Linked DNA regions of Homo sapiens: regions 2, 3, 4 and 5 are each linked to region 1. The links are contacts of gene promoters, found by promoter capture Hi-C in blood cells and fetal thymus (Javierre and others, 2016). All regions are on one chromosome and are shown on one strand. The core of a region is centred on a gene start or on the middle of the fragment in contact, and the rest is flanking DNA. Distances in the headings are between cores, read along the strand shown.

The links. Contacts are between HindIII fragments. The CHiCAGO score rates a contact against its expected background, and 5 or more counts as called.
Region 2: a fragment that was not itself captured here is called in contact with the fragment with the promoter of KCTD9 in region 1 in 1 of 17 cell types (neutrophils); the score reaches 7.5 in neutrophils.
Region 3: a fragment that was not itself captured here is called in contact with the fragment with the promoter of KCTD9 in region 1 in 1 of 17 cell types (naive CD4 T cells); the score reaches 5.5 in naive CD4 T cells.
Region 4: a fragment that was not itself captured here is called in contact with the fragment with the promoter of KCTD9 in region 1 in 1 of 17 cell types (fetal thymus); the score reaches 6.1 in fetal thymus.
Region 5: a contact is called between a fragment that was not itself captured here and the fragment with the promoter of KCTD9 in region 1, in 2 of 17 cell types (non-activated CD4 T cells and total CD4 T cells). The highest score is 8.1, in non-activated CD4 T cells.

What each region holds. Positions count from the first base shown.
Region 1 is chr8:25,457,000-25,459,699 of GRCh38, forward strand. KCTD9 (potassium channel tetramerization domain containing 9) reads right to left here and starts at 1,434. Exons shown (of 12, transcript NM_017634.4): 1 at 1,200-1,434. The coding sequence starts at 1,247. It overlaps CDCA2 (cell division cycle associated 2), which reads left to right and starts at 2,234. Exons shown (of 15, transcript NM_152562.4): 1 at 2,234-2,474. RefSeq lists enhancers at 483-532, 1,903-2,132 and silencers at 1,143-1,192, 1,553-1,762. The HindIII fragment of the contact is 4,823 bases long and covers 1-2,700 here.
Region 2 is chr8:28,097,966-28,100,665 of GRCh38, forward strand. ELP3 (elongator acetyltransferase complex subunit 3) reads left to right here. Exons shown (of 15, transcript NM_018091.6): 3 at 1,863-2,001. Among named protein-coding and RNA genes, the nearest start is that of ELP3, 6.2 kb to the left of the region's middle. The HindIII fragment of the contact is 3,785 bases long and covers 1-2,700 here.
Region 3 is chr8:27,780,385-27,783,084 of GRCh38, forward strand. The region is part of intron 4 of ESCO2 (establishment of sister chromatid cohesion N-acetyltransferase 2); the gene reads left to right. Among named protein-coding and RNA genes, the nearest start is that of ESCO2, 7.2 kb to the left of the region's middle. The HindIII fragment of the contact is 1,756 bases long and covers 472-2,227 here.
Region 4 is chr8:27,596,062-27,598,761 of GRCh38, forward strand. CLU (clusterin) reads right to left here. Exons shown (of 9, transcript NM_001831.4): 8 at 2,399-2,574; 9 at 856-2,189. The coding sequence ends at 2,180. LOC124901919 (a long non-coding RNA gene) reads left to right here. Exons shown (of 2, transcript XR_007060868.1): 2 at 1,006-1,498. Among named protein-coding and RNA genes, the nearest start is that of MIR6843, 13 kb to the right of the region's middle. The HindIII fragment of the contact is 624 bases long and covers 1,039-1,662 here.
Region 5 is chr8:27,760,296-27,762,995 of GRCh38, forward strand. It overlaps CCDC25 (coiled-coil domain containing 25), which reads right to left. Exons shown (of 9, transcript NM_018246.3): 3 at 2,124-2,163. Among named protein-coding and RNA genes, the nearest start is that of CCDC25, 11 kb to the right of the region's middle. The HindIII fragment of the contact is 4,892 bases long and covers 1-2,700 here.

The DNA of each region.
Region 1 (2,700 bases), core at 184-2,683:
ATGTAAACTTCGTGAACATATTTTCGGGGTAGCATTCATGATAACTCAAGAACTCGAATTTATACGAATTCTGATTTTAAATGAGTATTAAATCTCTAAGACCAAAAGAACATAAAATTATAGCCAACAAACCACACTCTGGTTCGAATTTTCGGAGCATGTTTACTCTACACTGAATAATCGGAAAGCCATTTTTAATGCCACTGGACAATTTCACTATTTAAAAATTTACAGTGTTCCCCGAATGTGCAGGCAGCAGAGTATTTTGGCAACCAACACAGCGAGACCCATTTACCTTTACCTTAGACTCGTAAAGGCTGAGTTACTTCTAGGTATCATTTAGCAACGCAATAAATGTCTGCCTCGAACAGTGAAAATTTCCCAAAGGAGCAGAACAACTTTCATGGGTGGGGCAAAAGGCTGGGAAGGAAGAGAATTCGTTTTGGCTTGCTCCAGCGCTGGAAGAACACTGAGCACCACACTCTCCGCAAAGGCCTAACACAGCAAAGGCGACTGTCAAATCGATCCCTTTTGGGTCTGCTGTACCCGTCCTCTAGGGAATCAAAATAAGGCAAAATAATAAAAAGAGTACAGAGAAGTTTGGCGGCGGCGGGGCGTGGGGGCTTGAGGCATCTCAGAGAGGAGGGCAAAAATCAACAAGAAAATGCCCCCATTTTAAAAATCCTGTCTGCGACCTCGGATGGGAGATTTTGTTTATCCACGGGCAGTTTACTTCTGTCTCCCTGACCCATCTCCACAGGCTCTGGTGCTCGCCGCCACTTTCCGAGCAGATCATTACTCAGCACCGGAGCCGGCGCGCCTCCTCCCGCAGGCGGGAGCGGGGTCTCGGGGAGAGGCGGGAAGAGGCGCGACCGCCCGGGCGCCCAGGTGACCGCGGCCCTCCCCGCGCCCCCGTCCCCGCGCCCCCCGCACCAAGCATCCGGGAGACCCGGAGCCCCCGGGCCGAACCGCGCCGGCCCCCAGGCAGCTGAGGCACTGAAGGGCAGGCTCGGGCACGGGGGTCCTGAGGGTCGGGAGGAGGCCGCGGGGACCCTGTGCTGTCCCCGAGCGCCCCCAGCCCGCGCACGCCCACCTCCCAGCCCCTCTACCCAACTTCACCGCTGCCCCGCCAGCCGGTTCCGCACCGTCCGCCCTCGCCCCGACCCCCGGCCCGCCGCGCCCCCTCACGCCCCCGTTACCTTTCCGTTCTTGGGGCTGCCGTTCAGGAACAGGGTCACCCGCCTCATCGCGCTGCCCCCGCTGGGTCCTGAGTGAGCCGCCACCCTCCCACCTGGTCCTCCTCCCACCTTTTTCTCCTCCCGCCCTTCCCCTCCCTCCACCCACTCGGATTCGCCTCCCTTCGCCACCTTCCTGCCCTTGGGGACACACCACACGCACGCACTCTGTCCCACACCCAAGGTTCGGCCGGTCCTCCTTCCCACCCCGCCCCTAGGCTCCTCAGCCTGCCTGGGGCCCTTCCCCCACCTCTCCGAGACTGACACTCTGCCGTACCAACCAACCCGCGTCACCGGACAGAGTCCAGCCAATCAGCACCCAGTATCGGGCGGGCTCTGGCTAACCTAGCCGGGACGGAGGGAGGGAAGAGACGCTGAAGGCTAGTAGACGGGAAGGGGCATCAGCCAATCAGAGAGGCTCCTGGAGCCGGACGGCGGCTTCCAGCGTTACTGAGCAGGCGCACCCTCTAGTTTAGGTAGCGCTTATCTGCATACGAGGGCGGGGTCTGGGGAAAGGAGGTGGAGCGCTGAAAGGGACCCAAGCACCAGTCAGCCCCTCCTCCAGCGTTAGCCCCGCCCACAAGCCGGCCCAGCTAGGAAACGGCTGCGGTAGGGACGGACTGATTGGGTAAGAGCCAGCTCGTCGCTCTGTTAGGATTGGTTGAATGAGTCTTTTCGAAGTTTGCAGCATCCAATAGAAAGGTGGGAGGCGGAGTTAAAGCGCTAAGAGAAGCGTTACTCCGCGAGACTCTCCTGAAAAGTAGTCCCCGAGGTCACAAGGCAGTGGCAGGTGTCTGTAGTCCTCGGGTTGACTGCAGCTCGCGGTGGTCCCTCTCCGAGCCCAGGAAGCCACTCCAGTGCCGAGGGAGAGGCCTGGGAGCGCTCGGAGTGTGCGCGGACTGGAGAAGGGGGAGGTGGCGGAGTGATTCGTAGAGTAAATTCGGTACCGAGGGGCGGGGTCGGGGATTTGAATCGGTCGGCGGGCGGAGGAGGCGGGTGGAGGAGGCTGCCGGGCAGAGCGCAGGCCAGGATCAGCGCAGGCTGTGAGTCCAGGTCAGCCGTCGGGACCTCGGGCTCCGGGTTCGAAGAGCGGCTCCCGGCTGCGGGTGCTTTGCCAGGAGAGCCCTTCCGGACAGAGGAGCCGGGGTCTGGAAGGAGCGGCCGACGCGACGCTCGCCTGCCACGGGGCTCTGGGAGTAAGCCTGTCTGCCTGGCGGGCCTTCAGGTGCGGCGTGAGAGGTAGGATTGCATCCGCGCTGCCACGGGGCTGTTTCTCCGGGGCATTTCTAGGCACTTTGTTCGGCTTACCCTGCAGCACAGAATTAGTACTCCTGTCAGGAGCTGCTCTGGGTGACCAGGAGTGCATCCGGACCTGTTGAGAGAATTTCTGGAAATGGATAGAGCTGCGTCTTGAGAGGGGTACCCTTATGATTCAGGTTTTCGCTACGGTTGAAAAGCCATGGCT
Region 2 (2,700 bases), core at 20-2,519, 2.6 Mb after region 1:
CCAGAGCCCATGTTCTTCTGTGCTGCATCGCTGCACATCCTACTTTCCTTCCCTACTGTCTCAGCTGAAGCAGCAGCTTTCTGTCAGGAAAACCCTCCCTTTGGGGCCCCTGATCTAATCCAACCCTCCCCTGCTGTAGAACCTCTTTGACACATTCATCCACTTCCTCTCCATAATCATTTTCAGCTTGGACTTTCCTACAGTCTCAAATAAGAGTTGTCTTTCATCTCTGCATCTATTTTTTTTTTCAAACTATAATATATATTCACTCTATGTAGATCTTCCCTAATGAAAGGGTTCTCTCCCCAACCCCAGGTCGTCTAATCATCACATACAGGAATGACCTTTTCTTAGACTCTCTTCTCTGATACTTGAGATGCTGCAATATTTTACCCCTTCCTTGAATCCTCATGCTTAGTAAATATTTGCTACAGGAATAAGTAAATATCCTCTTTTGACTATAAAGTTATTGTATTTTACTGATTTTTCTACCGTGTCTTTAGAAGTTTTTCTTTCTTTTTTTGTTGGTTATACCCCTGATTATACAAATCTTTAATTTCTAGTGAACATTTCTACATCTTATATATATTTGTTGTTCTCTTTAATTTAGCACATCTAAAGCTAAAGCTGCCATCGTCCTTAAAACTCGCCCCTCCTCAGATGTCACCAGCCTATTACTGGAAGGTCTCTCAGTCTGGCTTCAACCTGCTTTTCCAAGTTTTTAAACCTCTGTACCTTTACATTGAAAATCTTCTGCTTTCTGTCAAGTTGGTCTGCTTGTATTTCTTAAAATATATGCATTCCTGTTTTTGCATCTGCACATAAATCAGCCTGTCTGCCCTCCATGTCATCTTTGTGTCTTTAGTGACTGAGACCTACTCTTTCTTCTGTGCTCATTTCCATGAATATCTCCCCAGCACACATCAGATTCCTCCCTGAACTCTGGAAGCATTCATTGTTGGTATGTGTGTGTGTTTTATGACATATGTTTTAATCATTTATACATTAATTTTCTTGGTACGCCTGTCTGCAAACATGTAAACATAGAACATGAAAGGACTGTGCCTTGCACATTTGAACATAGCAGGTATTCAGGCAGCCTCTTGTACGTGTTAGGTCCTCAGTTAATATTTGTTGACAAATATGTGAGCACTTCACAGATATTTCTAGATGGATTAAAGTTAGAAGACAGGGTGACTGTTAAGAGTTTGGCTAGGAGGCACAAAGAAAAGCTGGTAAAAGTTTTTTTTAAACTTTCAAAAATATGTACTTTATTTCCTATTTGGTTCTGCATAGCCATCCTTGATTTTTTTTTTAATTGTTGTTGTTGTTTTGTCTAAGACAGTAGTTGTCAACCAGGGGTGATTTCCTCCTCAGGACATTTGGCAATGTCTAGGGACATTTTTGAGTGTTACAACAGGAAGACAAGAAGAAGGCTGGTAGTACATAGAGACCAAGGATGCTGCTAAACATCCCTCAATTCGCTGGCCACCTGCCACAGCAAAGAACTGTGTGGTCCCAAACATCAGTAGTGCTGAGGTTGAGAAAGGTGGAGTCAGAATAGTCCTTTGAAGCTGCAGCACTATTCTGAACTAGATCTATATTGTGTCATCGTCCAGGGACCCTTCTCCCTCCATAGTCCTCTGGTTTTCTTTCTGGTACTCAAGGGTGGGAAGTAGTCATTCACTCGTGAATTTTATTCTTCTATTTCCCTGATAGTCACAGATCTTAAAACTATCCTTGTCACGTGGTGAAGGGATTGGAGAGTGACAGTTGTTAATGATGTTGTTTATAGATCATCCTCTTGGTAGCTTGTCCTTAAATAACCGTAATCTTGATAATGTGAGATGCTTTACTTTCAGGGTGAAAACCAAGACAGCTGCCAAATATGGCCTTTCTGCCCAGCCCCGCCTGGTGGATATCATTGCTGCCGTCCCTCCTCAGTATCGCAAGGTCTTGATGCCCAAGTTAAAGGCGAAACCCATCAGAACTGCTAGTGGGGTGAGTGATTCGACTCATGAGGTATCGACACACTGGGTATCTGTTCTGGCAGAAGTCCCTGCTCCATGTGACGCCCGTGTAGTGAGGTAGAGGTTGGGGATTCTGAACTAATGAAGTCCCTGTATTAGGATATGTGCTGGAGTGGAGACCTGTGCTGAATGCAAGGAGAGCAGAGAGAGAAAAAAATATAATTGTGATTAAAGGAGTAGATGATGTTTTGACCTCTTTAAAAATATAGATTTAGGCTTGGTGACAATCATAACAGGATAAATGTTGGCCATCTTAAGCTGGTAGCTTTCAATATAATTGATGCTTATGAAAGGTACTTTTGAAAGGTAGTTAATGGTGCAAAGTAGTTCTGTATATGGTGATTATGAGCACTGTGGAAGTCCAGACAACAGCGATGTCCCTGCAGCAAAAGGGGCTGGGGAAGGCCCAGTAGAAAGCACACAGCTTGCTTGACCCATAAGCCAAGAAGAGCAGGCTCTAAGTGTCATGGGAGCAAGGACACAGGGGCTAAGGCACAGAGGTAGAAATGACAGGAAGGGCGTGGTGCACGCAGGAAATAGCGAGTACGCCAGACTGAAGGGTGTTAACAGTTCAGGAGAGTAGGACTGTGCGTTGAACAGGTAGTTTGGGATCAGCTTGTAAAAATCTTAAGTGTCTGGCAAAGCAGCTAGATAATAGGAAACAAAAGTT
Region 3 (2,700 bases), core at 100-2,599, 2.3 Mb after region 1:
AGTATCTTTGTTTATCTCTGTGACACTGTTTTCTGTAGTAAAGCAGTGCATTGCGTTTTGAAAAACAAGAAACAAGGAGATCCTAGGTTAAAATTTTAGACAAAATATTAGGCTTAATTGGTCTATGGCTGTGGCCAAGTTACTTAAGCTCTCTAGAGTTGAGTGTTCTCATTATAAAATCATACCTACTCTATCTTTCACCCAAAATAATAGAAGTTAAAACTATTATGTATATTTGTGATCAAAGCCCAATTGTGAGCAGAACTTACTAAGTTTTATAAGTGACACTGAAATTAAGCATCAAGAACCATGGATTTTTGTCTAGGTTTACTAATAATTAGCTGTATGATCTAGGAAGATATCTCTAAAGAGTTAAAGTTAATTTTTAAATTCCTGTCAATTCTGAAATCCTATTCCTAATTTATGCTGTCAGTGTTCAATTAAATAGCTTACTAAACTATGAATACATAAAGCTTTTTTTTATGATTCTGAGATATGATGTTAATAACTAGTATTTACTGAGTGCTGAATATAAGGCAGTGCTAAATATTTAGTATACGTTATGTTTTTCATAGATTGTGCTCAAAGCACTGATACAATAGAAAATATAACAAAAAGGCATCTACTTAAAATAGTTATAAATTTTTCTTTTAAAATATATTTTAGTACATTGTCTAAGTCAATTTAAAGAAAAATAGTGAATAAAAATAATACAAATGGTATAAGGATATGGGAGAAATCATAAAAGTAATATAAAAAGACCAAAACTTTATTACTTAATAACTACAGTTTATCATTTAATTCTCCCTACTACTCTAGGTCCTGATATGCCCATTTATAGATGAGGAAATGGACTTGGGTTAAGTAACTTACCAATAGCAGCTCAGACTTTCACCTGCCTTGGCCTTGTTTCTAGAGGATGAGCTCTAATTATTTTTCAATGCAAAGTTAAAGTTTGTTTTTTTAGCCCACTCTCAGCTTACTATTTTCCTCAAATCAATTGCTGTTTTAACTTTGCTCTTTTCTTTTAATAGACTTTATTTTGCCATAATTTTAGATTTACAGAAAAGTTAAAGTACAGAGAGTAGCAGTGTATCTCTTACCCTGTTTCCTCCATTCTTAACATCTTATGTTATAATACTTTTGTCAAAACTAAGAAACTTGTATTGGTATAGACTTTTTTTTTTTTTTTTTGAGATGGAGTTTCACTGTGTTGCTCAGGCTGGAGTGCAGTGGCACCATCTTGGCTCACTGCAGCCTCCACCTCCAGGGTTCAAGCATTTCTCCCGCCTCAGCCTCCCAAGTAGCTGGGATTACAGGCATCCACCACCATGCCCGGCTAATTTTTGTTAAGATGGGGTTTCACCATGTTGGCCATGCTGGTCTCAAACTCCTGACCTCAAGTGATCCCCCCACTTCAGCCTCCCAGAGTGCTGGGATTACAGGCATAAGCCCTTGTGCCTGGCCCTAAGCACTAGACTTTATTTGGAGTTCACCAAATATTGGTAGTGGTATATTACTGTTAACTAAACTCTAAACTTTATTTGGAATCTTCTATTAATGTTTTCTTTCTGTCCCAGTATCCATTCCAAGGTACTATATTACGTTTAATTGTCATGTGTCTTTAGTCTTATCTGTGACATTTTCTGTCTTATTTCTTTGTTTGCATATTGCCAGCTGGACGTTGATATTTCCAACTCTAATCCAGTACTCCAGGATTTATTCTATCCTTTTTTCATCTGTAACTTCCTTCTCGGACAGTGAGACACTTAGTTCCTACTATTCACTATCCATCTACTTATTTGTTCTGTCCCAGTAAACATGTAAAACAGTTTCATAATTGTTAATTCATACCCCTGTGAGAAATAACCAATTAGAGTGCAATTTTTTTCTCTTTGAGACAGAGGCTCACTCTCACCCAGGCTGGAGTGCAATGGCGTAATCTCAGCTCACTGCAACCTCTGCCCCCAGGGTTCTAGCGATTCTCTTACCTCAGCCTCCCAAGTAGCTGGCATTACAGGTGTCTGCCACCATGCCCGGCTAATTTTTTTGTATTTTTAGTAGAGACGGGGTTTCGCCACGTTGGGCAGGGTGGTCTCAAACTCCTGACCTCAGATGATCCACCCGCCTTGGCCTCCCTTACCTTTCATCTCATAGTTCATGTTGAGGTTGAGATGAATCTTATCTAATTCAGTCTCTTTTTCTATATGTAATTATTGCTGAAGTAAGCTTTTGTGGAATCCTATATCAGCTCATGCCATTCTTCTCTAAATGTGATATATTTTCAATTTTTTCCCTTTGTAGAATTCCATATATAGTTAAATAATATATATATATTAAATAATATATTTTTTAGGATGACAGGCGTGAGCCACTGCACTCGGCCTAGAGTGCAATTTTAAGTGCAATCTTTTTGTCTTTATCCTTATAACTTCTAGTCAAAACACCATTTGCTAAAGTTACTTAGGACAGCTTCTCTTTTTCCCCCTACCTCCTTCAGTGTCGTTATGCTATACAGTTCTAATATAGTTAGATTCATTTCTCACAGTCTGCATTCCATCTTAGGCTACCTCAGTAGCCTGGTTGATATTTATATGTATTTTTTTTTCTCATTTGATGTACATTGGAGTTCATTCTTTGTGATTTTTACAGTTCTGTGGGTTTTATCAAATGTATAGAATTACGTATTAGCCATTACAG
Region 4 (2,700 bases), core at 101-2,600, 2.1 Mb after region 1:
AACTCCAGCACCGTTTCACCTTGTACCCATGAGAGATTGTATCTTATTACAATTTTCTGGCAGATGACAGTTGAGTGTCAACAGAGGGGCTCAGCAGGGTTGGTGCTGCCTCCCTTTCCAGACAGATGTCAAATCCCTCTCTTCTCAGCACATCAAGCCCTGCTCCCCCTTTGCCACAAGAGTCCTAGAAGCCAGACACTAAGGGCTCAGGGTCCGCAGTCCCCCAGGCAGAATTAGCCTCATCTCATCCCCACACCTTGGTGACATCATGTGCTGACTCAGTCTTCCCAGTGCCTCATGTTGGAACCTCTGTCAGGGATGGAGAGACATCTAAGGACCCCCAACCCCAGGCCACTGTGCAGAGGGGTAAGGAGGTGCAGAGAAGGGGTCTCAGGAAGCTTTAGAGCCAGCTTTAGGATCTGTCTTTCAGGGTGCTAGTATTTAAGAGTGTAAAAAAAAAATCCAAAACACTGGATATAAAGGCCTGGCACGGTGGCTCACGCCTATAATCCCAGCACTTTGGGAGGCTGAGGCAGGCGGATCGCTTGAGGCCAGGAGTTCGAGACCAGCCTGGCCAACATGGTGAAACCCTGTCTCTACTAAAAATACAAAAATTAGCCAGGTGTGGTGGTACGTGCCTGTAGTCCCAGCTACTCAGGAGGCTGAGGCAGGAGAACTGCTTGAACCTTGGAGGTGGAGGTTGTAGTGACCCGAGATTGCACCACTGCACTCCAGCCTGGGCAACAGAGTGAGACTCTGTCTCGGGGGGCGGGGGGGGGGGGAAGCAGCAACCAAAAAACCCACTGAATATAGTGAGTTCCAGAGTCTAGCAACATAACAGTGGAAAAGAAAAAGTAACTTTTGAAACAGTGTGACATTAATGTGACAATGTGACATATACTTTACAATTATGATCACTTAAGCAAATACCTCTGACCCCATAATTCTAATTAATGTATATCATTAAGTGAATCACACTGACTTTACTCTGAATTTCCTTGACAGCCATGCTAAAATACTTACCTTGGACATAAGCTAAGCTTTAAGTTTGTTGTTTATAACTTCAAAGAGAGACAAGGGACAGTGACTTAAGAATATTCTAAGCTATAAATTTACATGTGGACTTTGCTACACACCTGGGATGCAGCCAGATGAGTTTTGTTCCATTGCAGTACATCTGATGACCAGAATTCTATCAGAGAATGTTAATGAACGAAAAGCCTGAGCTTTAAGACTGAGATTGGTACCACGGGTAGTCATGGCCACCTGCTGGCAGCGTAGGGTACTGCAGCCCAGCTATGGTTCAGACTAAAAGCCGAGAAACGCCTGTGGTCCAGGGAAAGGTATGAAGATCATATAAACCGGCGGTGGACAGGAAATGCCACAGTCAAGAAGATGCCCCTGGGATGCTGAGCTCTTACAACTCGAAATCAACAGCTTTTACAAATAAAACCGCTGCAAAAGCAATAGCTCTTACAAATAAAACTGATAATTTGGACTTCTGGGCACCAAATGTTTTCATAACGAAAACATCAATTATGCATTATAATACCAAGTACACCTTACACTTACTGATTCTTCTCCTTAACTTTCAGTGTATTCCTTTAGGAGATTGTCGCACCTTGGTCAGAATACATCGACAGTTTTATAATAGAACAGAAAAGCTTCCATTTGCAGCAATATATTTTAGTTGGCTTGTTGAAACACATCTCTCTTCCTGAAAGCAAGCAATTCTTGAAGTGGATCAACCTTGTCATCATATCCCTTTTATTCTTCACCCTTTTATTCTTCACTGGTATGACAGTCCCTATACCATCTTAGCCACTGCTTTTTTGTTTCTACTTATTTTCCATCCCCCCTGCCTGCCCCCCATAGCAAAATGAAGGCATGCCGGGAAGCAGCAACTCAACATAAAAAGAGGACCCTCCAAGCGATCAGCTCACAAGACAGTTTTATTGAATTAGTTGCATGCAGGAGCAATTCTGTTCTTCCCATGAGCAGCAGAGTCGAGTGTTAGAGTGCAGGATCCAGAGCGGGGAGAGGCTGGGCGGAGTTGGGGGCCTGGAGGCTGGGGCCTGGTTACTTGGTGACGTGCAGAGCTCTCTCTGGGGGGCTGCAGCTCATCTTGGGGGGAGCTGGACTCAGATGCCCCCGTAGGTGCAAAAGCAACATCCACATCTCACTCCTCCCTGAAATAAAAAACAGTTATCCTCCAAAGTAAAACATCCTCCAAAGGAAAAATAAAATTCCCCCGTAACTTCCTGGCTTTGTTCTTGGGCTCTGGCTCCGGGCGGAGTCGTTCCCACCAGGCTATAGAGTCTGCACTTTGTTTGTTTTTTTGTGGCTCCCAGAGACTCACTGGGCCCTGCAGGCCCGCAGGAAAGGCCCGCCTGCTTACCGGTGCTTTTTGCGGTATTCCTGCAGCGCTTTCTCCGCCACGGTCTCCATAAATTTAGGGTTCTTCCTGGAGACTTCTACAGGGACCGTCACAGTGATGGGATCAGAGTCAAAGAGCTTCACGACCACCTCAGTGACACCGGAAGGAACGTCCGAGTCAGAAGTGTGGGAAGCCACCTAAATGGAACAAGAGAAAAGGGAAGAGCTGAAACACTGTGGTCAAAATGCATGCGCTCTGCAACAGAAGTCAGGCTTCTGATAAGGAAGTCCTCCTGCTTCTCCAAGGAAACCTAGAGAGCTGAC
Region 5 (2,700 bases), core at 60-2,559, 2.3 Mb after region 1:
TTCAGGCTGCATCTGATTATGTAACCTTCTCTATGCAGGTTTTTATGCCTCAAACCTGATAGGTTAAAAATTTCCATCAGCTAACTGCCTAACAGGTGCAGCCATTCTTATTCCCATGAGAGTCTGGAGATCTTTAAAAACAACTGAAAATCATCCAGCTGGGGTTGGCAGGAGCTCAAAATGGAGATAACCATGATGTGGCCATTGTAGGGAAATGTCCATGGAGACTGCTTCTACGCTGGCAGGGAGTCAATTAGGAAATCAACCAATATTTACTGAATACCTACTATGTGCCAGGACCTATGCTAGGTACTGGGGACATAGTAGTTAATGAAATAGGTGATCATTGTCCTCATACAGCTTACTGTCTCAGGCCCTAGGAAGGCGGGCAGCCCCAGTCTGGATGTTTTCAGCATTGCACACTGCCCACTTGAGGCAAAAGAGCACCAAGCAGGGTTTAACTTGATGACATATTTGGATTTAGAAGACAGGTTTTTGTGCTGGAATAGGGACCAGATTTAAATAAGCCTTTAAAATTCCTTTGTTCTGGCTGGGCGCGGTGGCTCACGCCTCTAATCCCAGCACTTTGGGAGTCCAACGCGGGTAGATCACCTGAGGTTAGGAGTTCGAGACCAGCCTGGCCAATGTGGTGATAGCCCCAGTCTCTACTAAAAATACAAAAAATTAGCCAGGCATGATGATGGGTGCCTGTAGTCCCAGCTACTCGGGAGGCTGAGGCAGGAGAATCTCTTGAACTAGGGAGGCAGAGGTTACAGTGAGCCGAGATCGCACCATTGCACTCCAGCCTCGGCAACAAGGGCGAAACTCCGTCTCAAAAAAAAAAAGAAAATTAAATCAACTCTTCTAAAAAGCAGTAGCCCAACTCTATCACTAGAGGGAAATAAGTGAAGGGTCTGTGTCCACATTTGGAGAAAAGAGGTCCAGAGAGAGCTGCAGCAACAGCCTGGGAGAAGAAAGGAGCTGAAGCCAAAAGAGCAGCAGCCTGGAGAAGACAGAAGCAGTGACTTAGAACCAGAGCCAGAGCCAGTAGCAGACAGAGCAGACCCAGTCAGTTTCTCTTAACCTTAATTTCCTCATCTGAAAAAATGGGCATAAATATTAATATCTATTTCACAGGGTTGTTGTGAAGTTAAATGTATTAATGGAGGTAAACACTTAGTAGTATTTGGCATATAGTTAAGTGCTTGACAGATATTCACTATCATAATAAAGCAAACGGGACCCAGGTGCCTTTATCTTCAGGGATAGCATTTGGTAGGAGGTATGAGGAGTCAGGAAGATGATATCCCACTCCATAGGCAGGACTGTGCTCTAGAAGAGAGGCAATACTAGGGTCAGAGTCAGTGGTGGAAGCTGAAGATGAAGAAAACGAAAGTAGACTGGGTGTGACAGTGTTATAGGACAGAAGCCCATGTATTCATAAAAGGCCCCAGGTCTGAATGGTAGAAGTCTATATGGTGTTCTAAGACAGAGAAAAGAATTCAGCTTAAATGAAGTCTTTTTGTTTGTTTGGTATTCTTTTTTTTTGGACTGGGTTTTGTGAGCAAAATAAATGATCTCAAAAGGAGACTAAGAAAGTATATGTTATTATTTAAAACAGTTCACATAAATTGTTTTAGAAAGAAGGCGTCGGGGTTGGATCAAGACAGAGCTAAACTCATCAGGGAGTTTAGAAGACAAAGGGGAACAAGTGTGCTTCCTTTAAAGCTGGACCAGTAAGAACCTCCGTCTATTCCATCCGCATGGATGCTTGTATCTATTTTCTTCATTGCTTCATGTGAAGTCTTCATTTTTCCACTCAAGAACAGTGGTCTGAATATTTAAGTGAGGTGTGGTCTCAGTAACTTACTATGGCGTGGAGACAAAAAGGAGGAAAAAGAAGGCCTGTGTCCTAGAGGCCTTTGCTCTCAAGCCTGAGATCAAACCCAAAAACATCATTTCCAACTTGCAAGGTAATTAGAAATGAAGGAACTGGCAGTCAGCTGTTTAACCCTGAAGACCCATAAACCACAGTACAAAGCATGATTCTAGTTTGAATGCTTGGCCAAGTCTAAGAAAGGAAATGATGATCTACAGAGGGCAGAACCAAAATTGTTACTTACCAGATATCTTCAGGCCAGCCATGCTTGATCAGATCTTCATCTGCAATGAGATATGAGAAACGAAAGAAACAAAAACTGTCAAATGAAGATATGCCAGGGTTTATAAGAATGGGAGAAATGTCAGCTCCTCCCACAAATTTCTCTCTCCCTCAATGAAGAAGAGTAATTCGGAGGCCTTGATGCTTGAAAATACAGAAAAAATAATAATTTTCATAATTGAACAATATGAACTTTATAATTTTTATAAATTTATATAATACTTCTAATCTAAAGCTCAGATATTATTTCTATATGAAGATAATAAAACTAACACTGACAAAACAAAGCAACCAATAGTTCAGATGTTTCAGATAATCAATTCACCTAATAATACTTAAACATTAAAAAGAACTGGCTGAAACTTTAAAGAAATATTTTACTTCTTTAAGAAAAATTAACTTGATTATAAAATTACAGAAAATTTAAAACAAAACAAACATTAGAAGTATAAAAAGAAAATAAAAATCACCTTAAATTCTATCACACATGGAAATAAAACACCAGAAGAAATAGCTAACAGAGTGAAAAGTAATTGTCT